Linked DNA regions of Homo sapiens: all the other regions are linked to region 3. Evidence: promoter capture Hi-C in human tissues and cell types (Jung and others, 2019). All regions are on one chromosome and are shown on one strand. Each heading gives the region's core, a stretch centred on a gene start or on the middle of the fragment in contact. The rest is flanking DNA. Distances are from core to core; before and after follow the strand shown.

The links. The method cuts DNA at HindIII sites, captures the fragments that hold promoters and counts their contacts. A contact is called where the count stands out against the background at its distance.
Region 1: a contact is called between a fragment that was not itself captured here and the fragment with the promoter of CSPG4 in region 3, in 1 of the 25 tissues and cell types used here (lymphoblastoid cells).
Region 2: a contact is called between a fragment that was not itself captured here and the fragment with the promoter of CSPG4 in region 3, in 1 of the 25 tissues and cell types used here (spleen).

The regions. Positions count from the first base shown.
Region 1 is chr15:75,441,549-75,444,967 of GRCh38, forward strand. All of the region lies in intron 1 of SIN3A (SIN3 transcription regulator family member A), which reads right to left. Among named protein-coding and RNA genes, the nearest start is that of SIN3A, 8.4 kb to the right of the region's middle. The HindIII fragment of the contact is 9,103 bases long and covers 1-3,419 here.
Region 2 is chr15:76,132,868-76,136,693 of GRCh38, forward strand. It overlaps TMEM266 (transmembrane protein 266), which reads left to right. Exons shown (of 11, transcript NM_152335.5): 2 at 1,301-1,434. The coding sequence starts at 1,421. Among named protein-coding and RNA genes, the nearest start is that of TMEM266, 75 kb to the left of the region's middle. The HindIII fragment of the contact is 8,709 bases long and covers 1-3,826 here.
Region 3 is chr15:75,711,339-75,714,748 of GRCh38, forward strand. CSPG4 (chondroitin sulfate proteoglycan 4) reads right to left here and starts at 1,510. Exons shown (of 10, transcript NM_001897.5): 1 at 1,330-1,510. The coding sequence starts at 1,417. The HindIII fragment of the contact is 20,321 bases long and covers 1-3,410 here.

The sequences.
Region 1 (3,419 bases), core at 22-2,521, 270 kb before region 3:
CTCCCGAGTAGCTGGTGTATACCACTACACTTGGCTTCCACTCTGTAAACAGGTACACACCACCACGCTTGGCTTCCATTTTGTAAATTTTGATTCCAGGTTTCAGGTACAGCTCTAGTAAGGTTCTAGCTTATCACCTCTGGGTCTTTTTTTCCCTTTCTGCCCATCAAATGAAATACTTTGAAAACTCACTTCATAATTTTGTTGGAGAGAACAGTCATCTTCTTTGCTCCATAATCATAAGCATTCTCATTTTTAGACTAATAAATGTCAATCAGAATGAACAATCCAGGCTGAGCGTGTGGCTCTTGCCTCTAATCCCAGCACTCTCAGAGGCCGAGGCGGGTGGATCACGAGGTCAGGAGATTGAGACCATCCTGGCTAAAACGGTGAAACCCCATCTGTACCAAAACTACAAAAAATTAGCTGGGTGCAGTGGCACGCACCCGTAGTCCCAGCTACTCGGGAGGCTGAGGCAGGAGAATCGCTTGAACCCAGGAGGCAGAGGTTGCAGTGAGCAAAGACCATGCCACTGCACTCCAGCCTGGGTAACAAGAGTGAGACTCTGTCTCAAAAAAAAAAAAAAAAAAAAAAAAAAAAAAAAACTGATTTTTTTTTTCATTTTTACATAATTTTTCCTTCTAACCATCTTTATACATATACGTAACTTTGGCACCTGTCCACTTACAAACTGCATCAACTAAGTTTTGGTGTACAAATATCTTGAAAGATGAAAGAATACTATCATACATCTTTTTGGCAAAGTGCAGTGGTTTTGATTGTTTTTTTTTTTCATTTCTTAAAAATAGAAATGGGGTCTCACTATGTTGCCCAGGCTGGTCTCGAACGTCTGGGCTCAAGCGATCCTCCCACCTCAGCCTCCCAAGAAGGTGGGATTGCAGGCATATGCCACTGCACCCAGCCCAGTTCTGATTCTTATAAAAAGAAAATCACATTCTAGCTGGATGCCTATAGTGCCAGTTACTTGGGGGAACTGAAGCAGGAGAACAGCTTGAGCTCAGGAATTTAAATCCAGCCTGGGCAACATAGTGAGATAGATCCCATCTTTAAAAAAAAAAAAAAAAAAAAAAAAATTCACCGCTGGGCATGGTGGCTCACGACTGTAATCCCAGCACTTTGGGAGGCCAAGGCAGGTGGATCACCTGAGGTTGGGAGTTCAAGACCAGCCTGACCAACATGGAGAAACCCCATCTTTTACTAAAAATACAAAAAATTAGCCAGGCATGGTGGTACATGCCTGTAATCCCAGCTACTTGGGAGGCTAAGGCAGGAGAATCCCTTGAACCCAGGAGGCGGAGGTTGCGGTGAGCCGAGATTGTGCCATGGCACTCTAGCCTGGGCAATAAGAGCAAAACTCTGTCTCAAAAAAAAAAAAAAAAAAAAAATCACATTCTAAACTCATCTAGGGTACAGTCACATATGTATATGGGTGGAGACAGAATCTTGCTATGTTGCCCAGCCTGGTTTTGAAGTACTGGGCTCAAGTGATCCTCCCATCTCAGCCTCCCGAGATGCTAGGATTACAGGTGCACGCCACCATGCCTGGCTGAAGACTCTTATTTTACAACTTGGTTTATATAACTTTACCGTCATCCTAACAGTCTAGAGTACTACTGTCACACAGCATTCATCTACTAGTTCCTCTGAAATGTCTTCTGTAGTCAGTTTTCTTCTCTTTGCCATTATAGGAGGAAGATGAAAAACTATGGATTTTTAAATATGTCCAATGAAAGCTTAAAAGTTGAAAAATAGTATAAAAATTACCATGTACTCCTTCACCTAGATTCTCCAAATGTTAACATCTTACATAATGTTTAAGATGGTATCTCCCAACTTCTTTTATACTTTCTTGAAAGATGCTGTAGGCTGGGCATGCTGGCTCATGCCTGGAATCCCAGCACTTTGGGAGGCTAAGGTGGGTGGATTGTTTGAGCCCAGGAGTTCGAGACTAGCCTAGACAACATGGCGAAACGTTCTCTCTACAAAAAAAATACAAAAATTAGCCAGGTGTGGTGGCACATGCCTGTAGTCCCAGCTACTTGGAGGGCTGAGGTGAGATTGCTTGAGTCTGGGAGGCGAAGGTTGCAGTGAACTGAGATTGCGCCACTGCACTCCAGCCTGGGTGACAGAGTGAGACCCTGTATCCAAAAAGAAAAAAAAAGTTGCTGTAAGTTTTGGGAAAAGCAATAAGAAAACTGAAGGGCTGCGGTGCACACCTATAGTCCCAGCTACCGAGGATGCTTAGGAGGGATGATCACTTGAGCCCAGAAGTTTGAGGCTGCAGAGAGCTATGATCATACCACTGCCCTTCGGCCTGGGCAACAAAGCGAGGCCCCATCTCTAAAAACTGAAGTGTAAAACTAATGATTTATTTCACTACTGCATATCCTTTTAAGCAATTCTATAATTCTCCCTTTGTCATATTATTTTAGTCCTCTTTAGCATATTTGAGAATTGATGAGTAATGATGAAATAATTCCTAGGATGATGAAATACCAAAACATTTCAATATACAGGAAAAATAAGATCAGTAAAACTCCACAACATTGTTTCGATGTACAAGTGGTAATAGCTAAAATGAGTTTATTCCTTTGGAAAAAAAATAAATTTTCAGGCTGGGCATGGTGACTCATGCCTGTAATCGCAGCACTTCGAGAGATAAGAAGTTTGAGGCCAGCCTGGCCAATATGGTGAAACCCCATTTCTACTAAAAATACAAAAATTAGCTGGGTATGGTGGTACACACCTGTAATCCCAGCTACTCGGGAGGTTGAGGCAGGAGAACCAGTTGAACCCAGGAGGCGGAGGTTGCAGTGAGCCAAGATCGCGCTACTGCACTCCAGCCTGGGGATGGAACAAGACCGCATCTCAAAAATAAAATTAAAAATAAAAATAAATTTTCTCTTTGCTGTTTTGAAGACCTCCAATAAATAAAAGTCATGAAATATACATCTTTACAAGTAGTTAGTACTGCTTTAAAAAAAAAAAGCAAAACTCAAAAACTAAAATTGAGTCCAGACCAGGTGCAGTGGCTCAGGCCTGTAATCCCAGCACTTTGGGAGGCCGAGGTGGGCAGACTGCTTGAGCCCAGGAGTTTGAGACCAATCTGGGCAATACAGACTTCGGTGACACTGATGTTACCCAGACATTTCTTACTACTGTAGGTAGAAAATGAACAGAAATTTAGTTAAATTCAAAATGTATTAATAATTGTTATCAATGTTGATTTTCTGATTTGATCACTGTATTGTGGTTTTAAAAGATGCACTTGGGGAATCTAGGTGAAGATTATAGGGCTATTATTTGTATTATTTTTGCAACTCTCTTTGAAGTCTAAAATTATTTCCAAAGAAAAAGTTTTTTAAAAATTAAGTATTAGGCCAGGCATGGTGGCTAAC
Region 2 (3,826 bases), core at 811-3,310, 420 kb after region 3:
CTCACACCTGTAATCCCAGCACTTTGGGAGGCTGAGGTAGGTTGATCACTTGAGCTCAGGAGTTTGAGACCAGCCTGGGCAACATAGCAAAACCCCGACTCTACCAAAAGTCCAAAAAATTAGCTGAGTGTGGTAGTACGTGCCTGTAATCCCAGCTGAGGCTTAGGTGGAGGGTCACTTGAGCCCAGGAGGTCAAGGCTGCAGTGAGCCAAGATCGCACCACTGTGCTCCAGCCTGGGTGACAGAGTGAGACCCTGTCTAAACATAAATAAATAAATAAATCAGGCCGGGCGCGGTGGCTCACGCCTGTAATCCCAGCACTTTGGGAGGCCGAGGCGGGCGGATCACCTGAGGTTAGTAATTCGAGACCAGCCTGACCAACATGGAGAAACCCCGTCTCTACTAAAAATACAAAAACATTAGCTGGACGTGGTGGTGCATCCCTGTAACCCCAGCTACTTTGGGAGGCTGAGGCAGGAGAATCGCTTTAACCCAGGAGGCGAGGTTGCAGTGAGCTGATATCATGCCATTGCCCTGCAGCCTGGGTGACAAGAGTGAAACTCCATCTAAAAAAAATAAATAAATAAAATAAATAATAATAATGAAATCCAACACTTATATAGTACTTACTAAGTGTCAGACGCTATGCTAGTGTCTTACAGGCATGACCTCATGTAGTTAGTTCTGTTATTATCCCCATTTTTCAGGTGGGGAAACTGAGGATGGGGGTGTAAGTAGCTCACTCCAGGTCACAGAGCTAGTAGGTGGGAGTGAGGCTCTGACTGTGGCAGCCCAGCTCCAGGATCTATTCTTTCTCTCCGCTCTCGGAATGAGCTGAGAGGAGAAGAAGAGAAAAGCCTGCATGAAAAGACAGAACTACTGGAAGGGAAAGGGAAGTGGGAGAAAAAATACATGGAAAACATTTGAGATTTTTTAGACAAACCTTATTTTGAAGCCTCTCAAAGCTGCAGTATAAAGGGATGCTGTTTTGGGGGGCACAGCAGTTTAGTGGGAAGAACTGTGGATGAGAAGTCAGAGAACCTGGGCACTAACCTGGCTCTTCTACCATCTCTGTGACACAAAAAAGTCATTTTGTCACTCTGGCCTTGTTTCCTCATCTAAAAAAGAGAAATTATGCTTATTATTACTCTTCCATAGGGTAATTGTAAGAATCTATTCAACATTACTTTGAAGAAAAGTGCTAGATGGAAGAAAGTTCTAAGGACTCCCATTTTTAGATGAGCTTAGGAGGACTTTGGTTTGGCATCTGAAGGTAATAAGTTCCTATTTTTGTTTTCAGGGCACTATATTTGTATGTGTCTTGTAGAACCCACGCTTGGAAATGCTGACAGCAGGCTTCAGGACAGCTGAGCCCCACTAAACACCAAGAAAACCCATGGCTGTGGCTCCATCTTTCAACATGACCAATCCACAGTAAGTAATGCTGGGATCTGCTCTCTGGATCCAGAACTGTGGCTATAAATCTCCCAGAAGATGAAGATCTTCTAATTTAGGCAGCCACTATGTACATTTCCTTTAGCAGGAGGCCACAGAAAATGGAGAAACCTTTCAAAAGCAAGACTCAAGACAAGATTAGGAAGCGCTGAAGGTGAATTAATAAAATGGGAATCGCAAGGAAATTTAGAAATCTGAGAGGGTTTCTAAAACCAGGCTTTATGAAACCCGGGGCAGAATTCTTAAGGGAGAATTGCTTTCATTTCCCAAAACCTGAGATGCCATATGAACCAATCACTTAATCTTACCAAGCACCTGCAAGGTGGTCACTTATTTTGTGTTTTGCAACTGGTTGGTATGAATACTAAGATGAAAACAGCACTCATTCTATTACACCACACTGTCCTGGCCTATCTAGATATGGGCCTGACTGCTCTGTCATCTGGAGTATGAATCTGTTATCTATTGACACAGTAATGCTGTGTAACAACCAACCATAGAACCTTAGTAGAATACAACAAAAAATGTTTATTGCTCACATGTCTGGGGTACTCAGCTAGACAGCTCCTCTGATCTTGGCTGGGATGACTTTTAAATGTGGGTGATAGCTGGCTGTCAGCTGATCTAGAGGAGGCTGGACTCTGCTCCACGTCTCTCATCCTCCAGTAGGCTAGGCTGCTCACCCTCTCATGGGTGATGTTGGAGGTACAAGAGCACAGGCAGAAATTCACAGAGCCTTTTCATGCCTCTGCTGGTGTCTAACCTGGCTCTTCTACCATCTAACATCTCGTTGGCAAAAACAAGTCACATGGCTGAATGCTGAATCAAGCGTTCAGCATTTTTGATGGAAGGAGCTATGAAGTTATATGCCAAAGGGCATAGGCTCAAGGAGAGGTAAAGAATAGAACCATTAATACATTTTGTCTACCATACCGTTCTTTGTATCTAAGGAAAGGGTGTAGGCTAAATATAGCCTATACACTGTGGGACCTTCACCTCACCAGAGGGGGCCTTGTCTCTCTGCTGAGGTGACCACCACATGGCCAGAGATGGTGCCGGGCCGCTGGGACCACTGATGGAAGGGGAACGTGAGGCAGAAACGTTGGAAAGCCAGAAATAGTTTGTTCGCACTTCTTAGAGCCATATCCTGTTAATTTCTCTTATTGATCAGAAAGTTCTCTTTGTTTAGTTCAGTGATCCATAGTTTCCTTGAGTAGTCCAGAAGAAAAGAGAACAAATTCAACCCAGCATCTGCTTTTTGGGAACCATCTGGGGGAGCTGGGATTCCCCCCATAAACACCCACACTTTTATATCAATTGTTGAGAAACACTGAAACCTCACATTCTGTTTCGTTTAAAGATCTTGAGTCATTTTGTAAATGTCAAGCAATGATGAGTACTATTATCTGTGCTTGACAGGTAGCAAAAAGCAAAGGTTTAAATAAAGCCTACAAATGAGAATTGGGCATTAGAAATTACTTGGTGAATTCAGGTGGTCTAGGCAGCCAGGCTGTGGCATTCAAATAAAAATCTCACTTTCTCCTTAGTTATCGGATAATCCAAGCAAAAGAGAAGTAGGTATATTAATCTCTGAACTTCCGGGATAACTGCAGCTGTGGGTTTTTTTTTTTTTCTTTTGAGATAGAGTTTCACTCTTGTTGCCCAGGCTGGAGTGCAATGGCCCAATCTCAGCTCACTGCAACCTCCATCTCCCGGGTTCAAGCGATTCTCCTGCCTCAGCCTCCCAAGTAGCTGGGATTACAGGCATGCGCCACCACATCCGGCTAATTTTGTGTATTTTTAGTAGAGACGGTTTCACCATGCTGGTCAGGCTGGTCTTGAACTCCTAACCTCAGGTGATCCACCTGCCTTGGCCTCCCAAAGTGTTGGGATTACAGGCGTGAGCCACCATGCCCGGCCTGCAGCTGTGTATTATTGGTTAGATTTCAATGGTTGTTGGAAAAGTTTAGAATTTAGAGCTCCCACACAAGTATAGGGACTTGTCACTCTGGAGCTCCTCCGATCTTCTCCATATGTCTGTCACCTATGTCAGATCATAGTGAGAAGGAACAGCCCTTAGGAATATTCTATTTTACCTCCTCATGTTCTGATTGGAGAAACTGAGGTTCAGGAGGAGCCCTGCAGAAGTTGGCATTCAAACCAGCACCAGAGCCCAAGAGCAGTTTACAGCAGAGAGGACTGCCATCTCAGTATTAAAACTGGGCCCTCATTACCCTGGGCACTGACCCTCAATGTTCCCTCCAATATTTAAATTTTACTCCTTGCCATTATACAATTGTTCCTTTCTAACTCTCATTGTTTGGACAGAGGCACAAGACTGAGCCCCTCAGATTCTACAGGATGAGATAGG
Region 3 (3,410 bases), core at 260-2,759:
AAGAAGGTATTTGAGAATGGCTCTCAGTTGAAGCCCAAGGAGGTGGGGGTACTGGAATCCCTCCTTGGCTGGAGGCTGGGGCCTGAATGAGCTGACCACCCTGGTCACCTTGGATGCTCCCTTCCCATCTCCCTGGCGGCCCAGCCCATCCCTCAGGCCCTGAGATCTTAGGGGATCTGGTCCCTGCAGGAACAGGGAGCCTGGAGATCCAGCCCTGATTCACCCCGCGGGGGTCCTCCCTTGACTCACTTCCCTTCTGGGAACCATGTGATGCCCTCTTTTAGAGCTGGCTTCTCCATCTGAAGGAGAGAAGGGTGTGGCCTGGGCCCTTGTGAAGGAGGCTCAGGCCCTGCCTTTGCTCCATGTTGCTCTTGGGAATGATCTCGAAGGTGTAGCTGAAGCACTGAATCACACGTGGGTAGTGATGATGGATGGGCCCTAAGGCCACAGTTCTTATGGCATAACTAGAGCTGCCTTCGCTGAAGGAAGAATGCTGTCATGTTGGGGTTTCTGGCATCGGGACAGAGAGGGGATATATCCCAGCACTTCTCGGAAAGCGAACTTCCATTCAGCCTCTGCTGGGTCAGGCATCAGTGCTGGGATGAGGAGGTGTGGCAGGGGGTGGTCCAGAGCTATCTGTAGGACAAGCCCCGCTGAGGGGCACCAGCTCTCCCTCTAGGAGGCTGAGAGTGGGTAGTGGGTGGGGGGTCCTGCCTGTCACCAACAGGAGGAGGGAGAGGAGAGAATGAAGAGGGGAGGTGGCAGATAGACGGATCTGCAAGGAAGCAAGGGGAGGAAAGAAGGGGCAGAGCTGGGGGGCAGCTGGAGGGGTGTGGGGGTGCTCCTCACAGGGGAGGGCAGGGTGGCTCATTCCTCGTTTCCCACCTTGTAGCACTCCCCATTCCTGGCCCAGGGCATCTGAAGCTGGAGGACCCACTTCTCACTGTCGCCGGGTCCCTTTGGACCCCAACATACTCACCCCAAACTTGCCTGGCAAACAAAGCTCGGCCAGCATTGGGGTGGCCCCACTGGTGTCTCAGACAATCCAAACGGGCAAAGCCACGCCCTAGGCAATCCATGCCTGGGGCGCCTGCTCCCGCCCCTAACTGGACAGCCTTGGCTAGCTAGAAACCCCATAACCTGAGATAGCGGGGTCCCGTGTCCGCCCCAGGATTGAACCCCTGGCGACCCCAGCTAGTGGTGGGAGAAGCGCAGCCTGCTTGACTCCCGATCTGGGGGCCACTTCTGGCTCCTCCTGTCCCTTTTCCCTCCCGGAGGAACCCCTCTAGTTCCGCCAGGCTGGGTCGGGGTCTCAGGCCCCTCACTCACCCGCGGATGCAAGTCTGGCCAACATAGTCAGGGTCAAAGCCAAGGCCAGGCCGGGGGCTGGAAGTGGGGGCCGCGGCCCGGACTGCATCCCGGCGGGCTGGGCGGCAGGACTTGCGAGGAGCCAGCGGAGTCCTGGGAGCTGGGAGCTGAGTGGAGCGAGCGCGGCTCTGCTCCTGGGCGCGGGCCGGCTCCGGGTGTCCGCGCACTTAACTCCGGGGGCGGGGCAGGCGCAGACCCGCGCGCCCGCTCGGGTTTCAGGCTTGGACTCCCCCACCTGCCCCCACCCTCAACCTTCTTAAAGGGCCCGTGCGGGGCTGTTCCTCTCTGGGGCAGGGGTGAGGGGGCCCTTGCAGCTGGGCCAGACCCCAGCCCCACCCTAAAGACTTAGAACAAAGTCATAGAGAGGCCCAGACACCCTGAACTCTGGCCCCAAGAGCCGAGCCCGGGAGACCCCCTCAGGGAGGAGGCATGAACTGTCCCAGCCCCTACTTCCCTCCTTTCTGCCTTTGCGGGAGTTCAGGAGACCCCTCCACAGGCACACTCCAGCCTTAGGAGGAAGGACAGACACCAGCCACCCTCACAGGCGGCTTTTGGGCTGCTTTGCCTCGGAGGTCCCCTAGGAACTTCTCCAGACTCCAGAGGCACCACCCGAGGTCCTGTGGGGCACTGCCCATGGCTGCAACAGTGACCTTCTCTGCCTGGAAGGGCCTCACCTCAGTCTCCCTGTCTGTAAGGGAGAGATGTCTGGATTTCCTCGCAGGGCAGAAGAATTCTCAGTCCCGCCATGACATTTGCCTCAAAATAACCTTGCAAGGTGGGTGAGGAGCATCCCCTCCCCCATTTCATGGAGGACGAAAGTGCAGCTCAAGCTGAAAGTGGCTCTTACAAGACTCCAGGTGGAAAGTAGGTCCCTGGCCGTTTGGTGCCAGAAGCCCAGGCCTCCTGACCCCTGAATCCGGGTGTTTCAACTTCCCGAGGCTGCCTCCTGGAAATCTGGCCCTGGATTTGGCTTCTACCTAACAGCTTCAGGCTGGGGCCCTTCTGCTGGCTCCCTTCCAGGCAGCAACATCAGCCTAGTCCCAAACAGGAGGAGAAAGGGCAATGTTACTTAGCTTCCGGTGCCTAGAGGATCTGCGTGTTCTCTGTCCAGTCCCAATGTTACCGGGCCTTGGTTTACTTCCTCCATTCAGGTCCCTCCATCTATCTGCTCCAGCCCATCTCCAGCCCAACCCCACCTTGCACCCTCTTCCCAGCTCTTCCCTTTGACCAGTAACAGCCCAGCACTTCATACTTTGCAACGAAACTGAGACCTGTTTTGCAGATGAAGAAACTGAGGCTGAGAGAGATTAAGGGACTGGAGCTAGTCTACATAGCTGCTGAGATGTGGGGCCAGGTCTTTGACCCTAAGTGCAGTGCTCAGGTGTGATGGTGCCTGGTCCATGTGGGGGTTATGAGTATTGGTCTTGAAACCAGAGAGACCTGGGTTCAAATCCCAGCTCCCTTACTTGGTTGTCAAACCTTGAACAAGTCCCCTCACCTCTCTGTGGCAGTTTCCTCATTTGTAAAATTGGGTTAATGAGGATTAAATGCTTTAATGTACCTCAAGTCCCTAGCCCAGGGCCTGGCATACGGTAGGTGCTCAATAAATGCTTATCCTTTCTCCTCCGTCTCTGTCATCCTGCACATTCCCTGTGATTCATGGTTTACATACAGCTTTACACATATCACCTCCCTTGTTGTAAAGCTTGAACTTTCTCCTCCAGAGGCTGCTGCATACAGTAGGTGTACAATAAATGCCTGCTGTAGTTGACTAAGAAACCAATTGCTGCTGTTCTGTAGGGATTTTGGCAAACCTAAGAGCTTCCATCCAGGTGCCCTAGGAGGCCTGGGATGGAGGCTGTGCTAGGCTGGCCTCAGTGGCGGTAAAGGCATTGATTCCACAATTTGTCCCTTGTTTTTTTTTTTTTTTTTTTTGAGACAGAGTCTCGCTCTGTTGCCCAGGCTGGAGTGTAATGGCGCGATCTCGGCTCACTGCAACCTCTGCCTCCCGGGTTCAAGCGATTCTCCTGCCTCAGCCTCCT